Linked DNA regions of Homo sapiens: region 2 is linked to region 1. Evidence: promoter capture Hi-C in human tissues and cell types (Jung and others, 2019). All regions are on one chromosome and are shown on one strand. The core of a region is centred on a gene start or on the middle of the fragment in contact, and the rest is flanking DNA. Distances in the headings are between cores, read along the strand shown. Region 1 holds the start of PKDREJ (polycystin family receptor for egg jelly). Region 2 holds the start of FAM118A (family with sequence similarity 118 member A).

Region 1 (6,780 bases), core at 41-2,540:
TAAGTGTTTCTGGCAAAAGTGTCAGTACAGGGCCCGAGGCCCAGGGCCATTTCAGATTGGCCTGCTCGGGGTGACAGACTTCCTTGCTCCCCAGGATTATTCGATCCCCACCGTAGTTTCTGGGATCTGTGGTACAGTACCAAAAGAACTGGAGTCCCTGTAACGGGCTGTCCGCATCTGGGTCCGAGGACGTGGACCCGTCCAGAATCAGCTGCTCTGTGAAATTAGCTGTTATGTTGGCATCGCCAAGCATCACCGCCTGCAGGGAACTCCTGACGATCCAGACATAGACGGCGTCCGAGTCTTTCACCTCGGGCATCTTGGGGTTCCCTGTGGTGATGGACACCGTGAAATTAAACACATACACTCCCCACTGTAACGAATTATTGGGGATGTGAATGAACAAGGGGCTGTTCCTGATCTCGAGCTGGGGCAGATCCAAGGGCTGCGTCCAGTCGGGCGCCTGACCCACGGCGGGCACGGAGAACACCTGCCAGTACTGGGCGATGGCGCGCGCGGCCGGGCAGTCCAGCTGCACCGAGGCGTTGATGGTGGCCTCCGCCTGCATGCTCAGGCGCACGGGGGCGCCCTTCTGGTCCGTGTTGATCCTCACGCGCTGGATGACGCAGGCGTTTATCTGACAGGACACGGACGACTCGACGGCTCTGTGGCTGGACGAGTTGACGGCCTGCAACATCACGCGCGCGGGGCCGTCTGTGGGGCACTCGGTGCGGGCCACGAAGCCCTGCTGGGGCCGCGGGCCTGGCGCGGCGGAGCGCGGGGAGACGCGGGCCGCGGGGGAGGCCGGGCGGGCGGCGCCGGGTCCGAGCAGCCGCAGGCGGAAGGCCCAGGCCAGGCGCCCGGGCGAGCGCGGCAGCCGCACGGACCACGTCAGGGAGAGGCGGCCGCCGCGCGCGGAGAGCTGCAGGTCGACGAGCGCGAGCGCGGGCGCGGCCGGCCAGGGCAGGCGTTGGGCGCTGAGCAGGACGCGCAAGTCGAGGCAGTACCAGCGCCGCCCGGTCCCGCCATGGGGGAAGCAGAGGCTGCCGCGGCCGCTCAGGACAGCGCCGCCCGCCCGCACCGCGCTGGGCCGCAGACTGAGGAGGGCGCGGCCGCCGCGCACCCCGAGGCCCGGGGCGCCCCTGAGGAGGCCACCGGGCGCCCCGGAGACGGCGGCTTGTGCCCCGCGAGGAACCGGCGGCAGCGGGAGGCGGCCGACGCTCAGGCTCAGGCCCACGCCCAGAAGGAGGAGAGCGGGCCCAGGCCTCATGGCGCCGGCCCAGGAGAAGCTGGGAGAGGCCGCGAGGCGCGCCCAACCGCCACCGGGGTCGCGGGGATAGTGAGGGTCTTGGGGACAGTGGGGGTCTCGGGCGTCGAAGGGCGCTGGCAGAGGGGTCCCAGGGACAGAGTCCCAGAGAGCAGCTGGGACCTCGGAGCTTGGGGTCAGTCGGCACTGGGGACTTCTTGGGTACCTCTTCCCTCTCCGTCCCCAAGTGTGTGCAGGCCCAGGGTCAGGATGGCTCAGGAGGGCAGTTCAGCCCCGTGCAGACCACAGAGCTGACCACGGAGAAGGGGCTTCAGCAGGAACCCTTGGGAAAGCCAGTCACAAAATGGGAGATCAGGAGGGAACCGTGAGATCCCTGGGCGCCCAGGAAGGTCTGACTCTCGGTTTCTTACTTTGGGGTCGCTTTGCTCTTTTCTTTCTAGTTGGTTTGGGGGTTTTGTTTTTTGTTTGTTTGTTTGTTTGTTTGTTTTTTGAGACGGAGTCTCTGTCACCCAGGCTGGAGTGCAATGGCTTGACCTCAAGTGATCCACCCACCTCGGCCTCCCAAAGTGCTGGGATTACAGGCATGAGCCACTGTGCCTGGCCTCATTCTTTAACTCTGTCCATTTTTGCTGTATATTTTGGGACTTGATTGATGGATTGAATGATTTTAGAGACAGGGTCTTGCTCTGTTGCCCAGGCTGGAGTGCAATGGTGCAATCATAGCTGACTGTAACCTTGAACTCCTGGGCTCAAGGAATCCTCCTGCCTCAGCCTCCCATACTACAGGTCTACACCACTACACCTGACTGATTTATTTTTTATTTTTGTAGAGATGGTGTCTTGCTGTGTTTCACAGGCTGGTCTCAAACTCGTGGTCTTAATTGGCCCTCCCCTGTATTAGTCCGTTTTCATGCTGCTGATAAAGACATAACCAAGACTGGGAAGAAAAAGAGGTTTAATTGGACTTACAGTTCCATATGGCTGGGGAGGCCTCAGAATCATGGCAGGAGGCAAAAAGCACTTCTTGCATGGCAGTGGCAAGAGAAAATGAGGAAGACGCAAAAGCGGAAACCCCTGATAAAAGCATCAGATCTCCTGAGACTTATTCACTACCACAGAACAATATGGGGGAAACTGCCCCTGTGATTCAGTTATCTCCCACCCGGTCCCTCCCACAACATGTGGGAATTATGGGACTATAAGATGAGATTTGGGTGGGGACACAGAGCCAAACTATATCATTCCACCCCTGCCAAATCTCATCTCCTCACATTTCAAAACCAATCATGCCTTCCCAACAGTCCTCCAAAGTCTTAACTCATTTCACATTAACTCAAAAGTCCACAGTCCAAAGTCCTGTCTGAGACAAAGGAAGTCGCTTATGCTTATGAGCCTGTAAAATCAAAAGCAACTGGCTGGGCGCAGTGGCTCACCCTGTAATCCCAGCACTTCGGGAGGCTGAAGCGGGCAGATCACCTGAGCTTGGGAGTTTGAGACCAGCCTGACCAACATGGAGAAACCCCATCTCTACTAAAAATACAAAATTAGCCGGGTGTGGTGGTGCATGCCTGTAATCCCAGCTACTCGGGAGGCTGAGGCAGGAGAATCGCTTGAACCCGGGAAGCAGAGGTTGCGGTGAGCCAAGATCGTGTCATTGCACTCCAGCCTGGGCAACAGGAACGAAACTCTGTCTCAAAAAACAGAAAAAAAATCAAAAGCAAGTTAGTTATTTCCTAGATACAGTGGGGTACAGACATTGGGTAAAGACAACCATTCCAAATGGGAGAAATTGGCCAAACAAAGGAGTTATAGGGCCCATGCAAGTCTGAAATCCAGTGGGGCAGTCAAATCCTAAAGCTCCAAAATTATCTCCTTTGACTTCATGTCTCAAATCCAGCTCATGCTGATGCAAGAGGTGGGTTCCTATGGTCTTGGGCAGCTCCGCCCCTGTGGCTTTGCAGGGTACAGCCTCCCTCCTGGTTGCCTTCGTGGGCTGGTGTTGAGTGTCTGCAGCTTTTCTAGACTCATGGTGCAAGCTGTTGGTGAATCTACCATTCTAGGGTCTGGAGGATGGTGGCCCTCTTCTCACAGCTCCACTAGGCGGTGCCCCAGTAGGGACTCTGTGTGGGGGCTCTAACCCTACATTTCCCTTCCACACTGCCCTAGCACAGGTTCTCCATGAGAGCCTTCCCCCTACAGTAAACTTCTGCCTGGCATCCAGGTGTTGCCATATATCTTCTGAAATCTAGGCAGAGGTTCCCAAACCTCAATTCTTGACTTCTGTGCAACTGCAGGCTCAACACCACATGGAAGCTGCCAAGGCTTGGGGCTTGCAATCTCTGAAGCCACAGCCCGAGCTCTACATTGGCCTTTTTCAGCCACAGCTGGAGCAGCTGGGACACAGGGCACCAAATCCCTAGGCTGCACACAGCTTGGGGACCCTGGGCCCAGCCCACAAAACCACTTTTTCCTCCTGGGCCTCCAGGCCTGTGATGGGAGGGGCTGCCATGAAGACGTCTGACATGCCCTGGAGACCTTTTCCCCATTGTCTTGGGGATTAACATTTGGCTGCTTGTTATTTATACAAATTTCTGCAGCTGGTTTGAATTCTCCTCAGAAAATGGAATTTTCTATCACATTTTCGGTCTGCAAATTTTTCAAACTTTTATGCTCTGTTTCCCTTTTAAAACCGAATGCTTTTAACAGCATCCAAGTCACTTCTTGAATGCTTTGCTGCTTAGAAATTTCTTCTGCCAGATACCCTAAATCATCTCTTTCAAGTTCAAAGTCCCACAAATCTCTAGGGCAGGGGCAAAATGCTGCCAGTCTCTTTGCTAAAACATAACAAGCATCACCTTTGCTCCAGTTCCTCATCCCCATCTGAGACCACCTCAGCCTGTACCTTATTGTCCATATCACTATCAGCATTTTGGGCAAAGCCATTCAACAAGTATCTGGGAAGTTCCAAAATTTCCCACATACTCCTGTCTTCTGAGCCCTCCAAACTGTTCCAACCTCTGCCTGTTACCCAGTTCCAAAGTTGCTTCCACATTTTCAGGTATATTTTTGGCAACACCCCACTCTAATGGTACCAATTTACTGTATTAGTCCATATTAGTACTCAGCTCAAGTGCAAAATTTAAGGGTGGAGGGGCACCAAAAACTCAATAATCAAGACAAATTCTCTTTTATTGAGGTAAAGTTCACATAAAAGTAACCATTTATGGGAGGCTGAGGTGGGAGGATTGCTGGAGCCAGGAGTTCAAGGCTTCAGTGACTTATCATCCCTATCCCCTCAGTCCCTGGTCACCACCAATCTTCTTTCTGTCTCTATGTTTGCGTATTCTGGACATGCATGTAAATGCACTAATACAAGTGTTACCTTTTGTGTCTGCCTCTTCCTTCAGTATGAATGAACCTTGAAAACGCTGTAGGAAAGGTGTGTCTTCTTTGGAGAACTGTCACCTCAAATTCTTTGCCCACTTTAAATTTGGGCTGTTTGTCATTTCGCTGTTGAGTTGTAAGAATTCTTTTTTTTTGAGACAGAGTCTGGCTCTGTTGCCCAGGTTGGAGTGCAGTGGCACAATCTTGGCTTACTCCAACCTCCACTTCCCGGGTTCAAGCGATTCTCCTGCCTCAGCCACCCAAGTAGTTGGGATTACAGGCATGCACCACCACGCCTGGCTATTTTTGTACTTTTAATAGAGATAAGGTTTCACCATGTTGGCCAGGCTGGTCTTGAACTCCTGACCTCAGGTGATCCACCTGACTCAGCCTCCCAAAGGGCTGGGATTACAGACATGAGCTGCTGTGCCCGGCCAAGATTTCTTTATGTATTCTGGATTCTAGACTCTTACCCAATATATGATTTACAAATGTTTTTTCCCATTGTGTTAATCTTTTCAGTTTCCTGAGTAGTGTCCTTTGATTCAGAAAAGTTTTTAATTTTGACGAAGTCCAACTTATCTATTTTGTTGTTGTTGCTTGTCCTTTTGGTGTTACATCTAAGAATCCATTGCTAAATCCAAGGCCATGAAGATTTACTTCTGTTTTCTTCTAAGAGTTTTATCTTTACAGCTCTCACATAAAACAAATAATACTTCAGTGCAATATTTCAAAAATCAAAACTAATGCAAAAAGTCCATGATGAACAAAATAGCATTTTAAATAAAGGCCAGATCTGCCCGTGCACTTGGTTCTACGCCCTTGATTCGTGCACCCTGGGGCGGGGGCAAATTAAACTAGGGGAGCCCATTGGACTGGGGCTGGTGTGTGGCTGATGGCAGAGTTCAGGCCGGGCCAGACCGGGCCAGTCCAGAGGGAGAAGCCGCTACTGCAGGAGACAGAGCGATTTTTCCGCTGCAAATCCTTGAGAAGGGAGGATGGAGGCGGCGGGACGACCCAGTGAAGCCGGCCCCGAACGCCAAGTGAGTGTGTGCCGTGCGCGCGCGGGTAGCTGCCGACCGCAACGACATAAACTTGAAAGTGACCGCTGTCCCGGAGCTCCCTGCTCCCAAGGGACCCGTCGCGTTGCAGAGTTGTCCGGTCGGGCCTCTGGGGCGGGCCCGGATCCTGGACCAGGGCCAGTCTGTCCGAAACCCACCAGTGAGCGAGCGGGAGAGCGCGGCCGCCCCGCCCCGCCCCTTTCCGCGACCGCCCCGCCCACTCCCAGGAAGGCCCGGGTGCCCAGAGCTCGCGGTGGACTCCGACCCGGCGCAACATGGCCGCAGCCTCGCCTCTGCGCGACTGCCAGGTACACGGAGGCTGCCCCCAACCAGGTCCCCCTCGGGCCCCGGGTCCTGGGGGTGGCCCGGTGCTGGCGGAATAACGGGAGACATGGCCCGGGCGCGGGGCGTGGGGTGAGCCCTGGGCGCACGGGCGCGTCCGCGGCAACGCCTGGAAGGGACCCGAGGCCCTTCTTGTAGAGTCCCCACCGAGGGAAATAAGGGACGCCTGTCAGGGTACTCGGGAGACCCCAAGACCTCCTAAAAAACGTAGCTCACTGGGCATGGCTGGGGACGCAGGGAAGCCCGCAAAGGTAAGGGGCTCCTTGGAACCGGCCCAGGACTGGGAGCCTGAGCCCATTTTACAGATGAGGAAGGTGGAGGTCAGAGGGGCCAGGAGACGTGTGTGTGTTGAAGTTTGAAGGGCTCCTGGAGAGAAGGCACTGCTATTCCCTTCTTGCCGTCTGTAGGCCTGGAAGGATGCGAGGCTCCCGCTCTCCACCACAAGCAACGAAGCCTGCAAGCTGTTCGATGCCACGCTGACCCAGGTATGCCTGCCGAGAGAGGCCGCGGCCCCTTCTGTGGAGGTCTAGGGGAAGGTTTTTTAATTGGGGAAAGCTGTTTTTTTGTTTTGTTTTGTTTTGTTTTGTTTTGTTTTTGAGGCGGAGTCTCGCTCTGTCGCCCAGGCTGGAGTGCAGTGGCGCTATTTCGGCTCACTGCAAGCTTTGCCTCCCGGGTTCACGCCATTCTCGTCCCTCAGCCTCCCGAGTAGCTGGGACTACAGGCGCC
Region 2 (6,096 bases), core at 2,148-4,647, 950 kb before region 1:
GGTCTGGGGAAAGGAGACGAGCTGACGGAGAAGGAGGGCCAGAGAGACTTTTCCAAGGTGCAGGCTCCCCTCTTCCCTTCCCCTGCCTGCCATACACACCCCGCCTGCTGCTCAGCAATGGCATCACAGCCCCTCCTGCCAGCCTGCCCGGATGCAGGGAGCAGCAGGAGAGTTTCTACAGGAAATAGACATGGGCATGGGTGGCATGTGGGGAGGCTCTAAAAGGCTTGATTAGCTCCTTTACCATGAGTGTGTTTACAGCATGTATGTGTAATGACACACACAGTGTGAGGGTGTATATTGCATGGTGCGTGTTATCTCTGTGGGGTGTGTTCTTGTACACCGGTGCAGGGCATATATGTGTTATGATGTGGGTTTGTCCAGAGAATAAAGCAACAACTTCCTCTCCAGGATGGGAGGACTGTTATGTGGTCTCTGGTGTCCTTTCTGTCCATTCTTTAGAGCATCCCACCAGGGACCCTGCCTGTGAATCTGTTGGCTCTCTCTTTTCTGACAGTGCAAAACAAAGCTCCTTCTGCAGCCAGACAGACCCTGGCAGCAATTCCAAGCAGATGCCCACTTACCAGCTCGGACTAGTTGCTCTAACGCCTCTGAGCCTGTTTTTTGGTCTGTTAAAGGAGATTAATAACACCTACCACGCAGGGTGGCAGCGACAGTGAGGAAAGGTATGCCTATGAAGAGCTTAGAATAGCGCCTGACACACAGTAGGTGCTCAATTCACAGTAGTGTATATGCCCACACACAGGTATGTACATTCCAAATGCACCAACGCCCCTCAAGATACCCTCAATACACAAATAGATTGAGTCTGGGCTGGATGCGGTGGCTCATGCCTGTAATCCCAGCACTTTGGGAGGCTGAGGTGGGAGGATCACTTGAGCCCAGGAGTTCAAGACCAGCCTGGACTGGTGGAGACATGGTGAGACTCTGTCTCCATGAAAAATAATTAAAAATTTAAAAAATATATTTTAATTTGAAAACTTTTAAAAAGGAAAGATATGGACTAGGTCTGGTCGCTGGGCTCCTGACGACAAGGCTTGCTGTGCACATACATCTTCATTAGTGTGAGCTGTGCTCACGTCGGCTGCGTGGAGGCTGGGACAGACACGGACACCCCACAGTGCCCAGTGATGTGTCACACCCACACATCAGCACCACGCTGACCTCTTGCCAACCTGCCATATCTGCCCCCTTATCTACTCAGAATGGTCAAGGTGCCCAGGGGGCAGTGTCTCTCAGTAATTTTCCACAACCTGAGAAAAAGCTGTGTTTCTCTCAGATGTGGGGAAAAGGGGAGCCCTTGTTCCTGAGGCATCCTTCCTGCTGTCCTTGCTCTTGTAAGGCTGACTGGCTGAGTTTTTGGGTGGAGGGGCTGAGGCTCCCAGCCTATCTCAGATGGTGCTGAATGTGGCTGGAGGTTACGATTGCTTTGGTCCCACCACCCCTCAGAGGATGCCCTGCGCAGAGTCTTGGGTCTGACTGACCTCGGCAGCACCCAGCCCATAAGGTCCTGTTAATCAAAATCCTTGCTGGGGCCTGGGAGCTCCATGAGGGAAGGGGCCACATCTCCCACAGGTCTCGGGCTTCAGCACCCAGTACAGGAGCAGGTGTTCATGAACTGAATTATATATCTTTTGCATTAAAAAAAATTTTTTTTGAGACAGAGTCTCGCTCTGTTGCCCGGGCTGGAGTGAAGTGGCATGATCTCAGCTCACTGCTGCCTCTGCCACCCGGGTTCAAGTGATTCTCCTGCCTCAGCCTCCCGAGTAGCTGGGATTACAGGTGTCCGCCACCACGCCCGGCTAATTTTTGTATTTTCAGTAGAGATGAGGTTTTGCCAGGTTGCCCAGGCTGGTCTGGAACTGCTGACTTCAGGTGATCCACCTGCCTCAGCCTCCCAAAGTGCTGAGATTACAGGCGTGAGCCACCGGCCTTTTTTTGCATTTAAGTCGCACCTCCAGGGGTTGGGGAGCTGTATGCAGTGGTGGTTACATGTGTGGGCTGAGGCATGGAACTACACAACCTCTTGGGCCTGAGCTTCCCCTTGTTAAACTGGAATAACAATGAAGACGCCTTCCTCATAGGGTTGTTCCAAGAACACCATGAAGGAACGCATGCAAAGTGCTCAGGGAGTGCCTGACCCCACATACAGAGCACCCAGGGGCTGCCCTCTTCATCCCAGAGTCACTGCTCCCACTGTTTTCTGGGCTCTGGCCCCCCCTAAAATTTCACAGGCCGCTAACACAACACTACCTTCTGTCACAAAATGAGAGCTTTCTGGTGGGCTAGGGTAGGGGGAGATATTAACAGCCAACTTTAAAATCAGGCAGGAAAAAAAGGTGCCAAGGAGACAGGAAGTAATAAATGACTCCAGGTTGGGCAGGGCAGGCTGGGAAGAGGAAGTGGATTGGGTCTTGTTTAGGTAAAAGACTTCAGTGGCAGACAAAGGAGGAGTAATAAGATCGCTAGGGGGCCCGTGCCCAGCCCACCCACGCACAATCTCAGTCCTCGCAATACCCACAAGGTAGGTGCTAGGATCACACCCTTTACGGACGCGGCACCTGCGACAGGGATGCGCGAGGAGTCAGGGGGCCTCGCCGGATCGAACCTAAGCTGGGGAAGAGTATTTCTTGTATTTTTAGGAGAAATTCTCAGCCTCGGGGAAGAGTATTTCTTGATGAGGGAAGAGCGCGGGGAAGACACTCACGCACGCACAAACATGTGGGCGGCCATGGTGTGCCCAGCGCCGTGCTGGCTTCTGGGAACCCCCAGTGGACAAGACGGACAAGGTACCGGCTCTCAGGGGAAGTGGGAGCCAGTCACAAGCGTACCTAATTTCGGAGAGTGACAAGTACTCTGAAAAAGAAAGAAGGTAGGGCTGGTGACTGGCCAATTTAAGCGGGCAGGAGTCTGCTGGGGGACGGAGACCAGCCTCAGGTCTGGGTTGGGGACAGAAGCTGTGCCTAAGTGTGGTGCAGGATGCAGTTGCAAAGGAGCGCTTCCGATCGCACTTGATGCTCGCCACGTCCCTGCAAAGTGCTCCCGCCCCCTTTCTGCAAATGAGGAAACGGGACGCGCGGCTCGCCGGGCCAGGTAGGGCTAGGACGCGGACTCTAGGCCCAAGCGCTCCCCAGCGCAAGCCCTCCCCCGCACATCCGACCGCGCCTGCGCTGGAGACCCCGGGGGCGTGGCCTCCCCGGTGGGCGGGACCGTGGTCACCGAGGTGGGCGGTGCCAGAGGATCTGGCGGCGGGGCGGGGCGGGGCGCGCGTCCTGGCTTCGCCCTTCCCCGGGGCGGGGCCTCCGGGGACCGCGGGGCCGTTGGTTTCGGGACGGAACGTTCACGCGGCTGGGGCGGGCGCGCGGGGGAAGGGTTTGCGGCGGCGCCGCTGCCGGCTAACGCGGAGGGGCGCCTGGAGGCGGCGTGGCGTCCGCTCTGGCTCCGACTCCGGCTCTCGCTCTCGCTTCTAGCCCGCGTGCCTGCGCAGTCCCCTCCCCGAGAACCATCCCCTTGCCCCGCCCAGCGTCAGGGGTGCGCGGCCGCCGAGAGACCCCGGAGGCGTAGCCGGCTGCGGAGGCGAAGAGGTGGCAGCGCGAGCTGGGACCAGCGTCTCGGAGGCGCCGCAGGTGAGGGGGCGGGGCGGGCCCGCGGTCCCTGCATCCGGAGCCCCTGGGGACCCCGAGATCCTCAGGATCCGCCCCGGCCCCGGGGCCACCCCAGGACTCCCTCTCAGCTCTTCCCCTGGAGCCCCTGCCCCCGAGACCCCCTCAGGATCCGCCCTGCCCCTCCAGGCCCGCGAACCCCGAAACTCCAAGATTTTCTCTGGACTCCGAGACCCCCTGAGGACCCCGGCCGCTAGTGGGCCCTGAGAACTGTTGGTTCCGGAAACTCTCGAGGTTCCCTTGGGACTTGCTTCCAGCAACCTCCTCAGAAGCCCCCAGGCCCGGGGCATCTTCCTGTGGGGAGCCGTGGTTCCCAGTGTCCTTAGCCCCGCGAGACCCCGGGTCCCCGTGCCGCCCACCCTGAGGCTCCCTCTCCGACCTGATCTCAGGGCTAGGTTTCTCCAACTTGAGGTCCCTGGACCTGCGGGGCGTGGGTGGAAGTGTTCCCAGGTCTGGTGATAACTTAAGACGGTAACAGCGCGCCCGACGACCACCTCCTAAGCTGTGGTCCCCGCGCCTGCAGGTGCAGGGCCGGGTTTAAGTTTTAATGTTCTGCTGAGACTCAGGTGGCCCCACAGGACAGTCTATAGAGCAGGAGACCTGAGGTGGCCGAGGGCGGCCGAACCGGGGAGGGAGCGAGTTAGGGCACATGGGGACGCTTTTAGGTTGTCTCCTCCTTAATTTTTTCATTCAAGGAACTAACATTTTGTTTTTGAATGCCTGATAGGCTCCAGGAATTGACACTGGAAATAGAGATGAGACGGTCCCTGCTGTCAGGGCCTAGGGACCTGGGGCATAAGACAAGTAGGTCGTTTTTATCTGGAGGAAGCTGTGTCGTCGCTGGCAGGGAACCCATCTGGGTGGGCATGGGATTCTGGGAAGGGGTGGGTGTTAAGGAGGGCGTCTTAGGAGTCGTGGGGAGGAGATGCTAAGCAGCAGGTGAGCTGATTCTTGAAGGTTGAGCTAGAGGAGAAGTTTGCCAGGGTCATTCCAGGCAGAGTTTCAGGGGACAGCCAGTATGTCAAAAGGCAGAGAGGCTGCCACGGCACACAGTGTTGGAAGGCGGGAGGTGTGGCTGGAGCACACCTAATGAAGGTGGCGTGGGAGTGAATGCTAACTGCGGAGAACCCAGCTTTGCTCCCGGAGGCCCACCGTGCCCTTGGCCCTTTCTTGAACGACTGCACCTGCCATTGTCCTGAGAAATGATCCAGCTGAGCTGAAGGAAGGTGGGAGGTGGTCAGGGGGAGAAGTGAGGGAAGTGTCTCGCTAGAGACCTGGTATGGGAGAAGCTGGGACTTTTGCAGAGTACTGGGTTTGAGGTGGGAGTGACAAGAAAGAGGGTGTGATTCTGAGAGCCAGTCAGGACCAAAGCATGCCCAGTTTAAGCTGAGTGGAGGGTTTGGTACTTAAAGGGAGTGGGTGGCCATTGAAGGGCTTTGGGAGGAGAGGGGCGGGAGTTGGTGTGTTTTTGAACCATCCATGTGGCTGTGGTGGGGAGACTTTTTTGGAGGAAGCAAGACCCTATGAGAGATGGGGGTGACCTGGACCAAGGCGGTGGTAGTGGGGGACTGTGGCTTTCTGGAACGGGGCTAAGCTTCTGAAAGCCCAGGCCCAGAAGACTGGTTCCCGCTCTTTCCTGTCTGAGCCTGGGGTCTGAACTTTAAGTGAGGTTTTTGTCCTATTACCGTAGGGTCTGTGGTCGCCTTAGTGCTTCATGGTGACTGTGTGTGTGTGCTTCACCATAGTCTAATGACCACACAGGACGCAGTGGGGCAGGGTGGGGAGAGGCTGAGTCTCAGAGGTGGGCCAGGACCATGCTGGGCTAGGGGTCCTGAAGAGAACCTGTGTGTGGAAAAACCACCCATCGTGCTTTTTCTATTATCTCACTCAACGACAATCAACAGAGATGTCTTCTGTGACCAAATGTGAGGAGAGGTTTCTCCCTGCCACCAAGCGGGCAGTCATTTGTGCAAGAGACACCAACTGGGTATCTTCCAATTCAGTTCTGATACTACCTGGAGATAGCATCAAATCTCGCAAGTTGAGGGCTCAGTCCCCCAAGACTGCCCTCCACCCCTTCGGACACCAGTCACAAGCCTGAGCCTCTGGAACTTCTGATCGATCAGCTTCAAGTTGGGGTTCCCATGACCCTTCCTTAGGTTTGATTAATTTGCCAGTCGCGGTGGCTCACGCCTGTAATCCTAGCACTTTGGTAGGCCGAGGAGGGTAGATCATCTGAGGTCGGCAGTTCGAGACCAGCCTGGCCAACATAGCAGAACCCCATCTCTACTAAAAATACAAAAAATTAGCTGGGCATGGTGGTGTGCACCTGTAATCTCAGCTACTCAGGAGGCTGAGGCACGAGAATCCCTTGAACCCGGAAGGCTGAGGTTGCAATGAGCTGAGATTTTGA

What was found. The method cuts DNA at HindIII sites, captures the fragments that hold promoters and counts their contacts. A contact is called where the count stands out against the background at its distance.
Region 2: a contact is called between the fragment with the promoter of FAM118A here and the fragment with the promoter of PKDREJ in region 1, in 1 of the 25 tissues and cell types used here (dorsolateral prefrontal cortex).

What each region holds. Positions count from the first base shown.
Region 1 is chr22:46,262,053-46,268,832 of GRCh38, forward strand. PKDREJ (polycystin family receptor for egg jelly) reads right to left here and starts at 1,291. Exons shown (of 1, transcript NM_006071.2): 1 at 1-1,291. The coding sequence starts at 1,270. It overlaps TTC38 (tetratricopeptide repeat domain 38), which reads left to right and starts at 5,956. Exons shown (of 14, transcript NM_017931.4): 1 at 5,956-6,020; 2 at 6,462-6,539. The coding sequence starts at 5,988. RefSeq lists silencers at 5,853-6,012, 6,023-6,232. The HindIII fragment of the contact is 11,288 bases long and covers 1-6,780 here.
Region 2 is chr22:45,306,537-45,312,632 of GRCh38, forward strand. FAM118A (family with sequence similarity 118 member A) reads left to right here and starts at 3,398. Exons shown (of 9, transcript NM_017911.4): 1 at 3,398-3,647. RefSeq lists a silencer at 3,064-3,743 and an enhancer at 4,460-5,268. The HindIII fragment of the contact is 15,582 bases long and covers 1-6,096 here.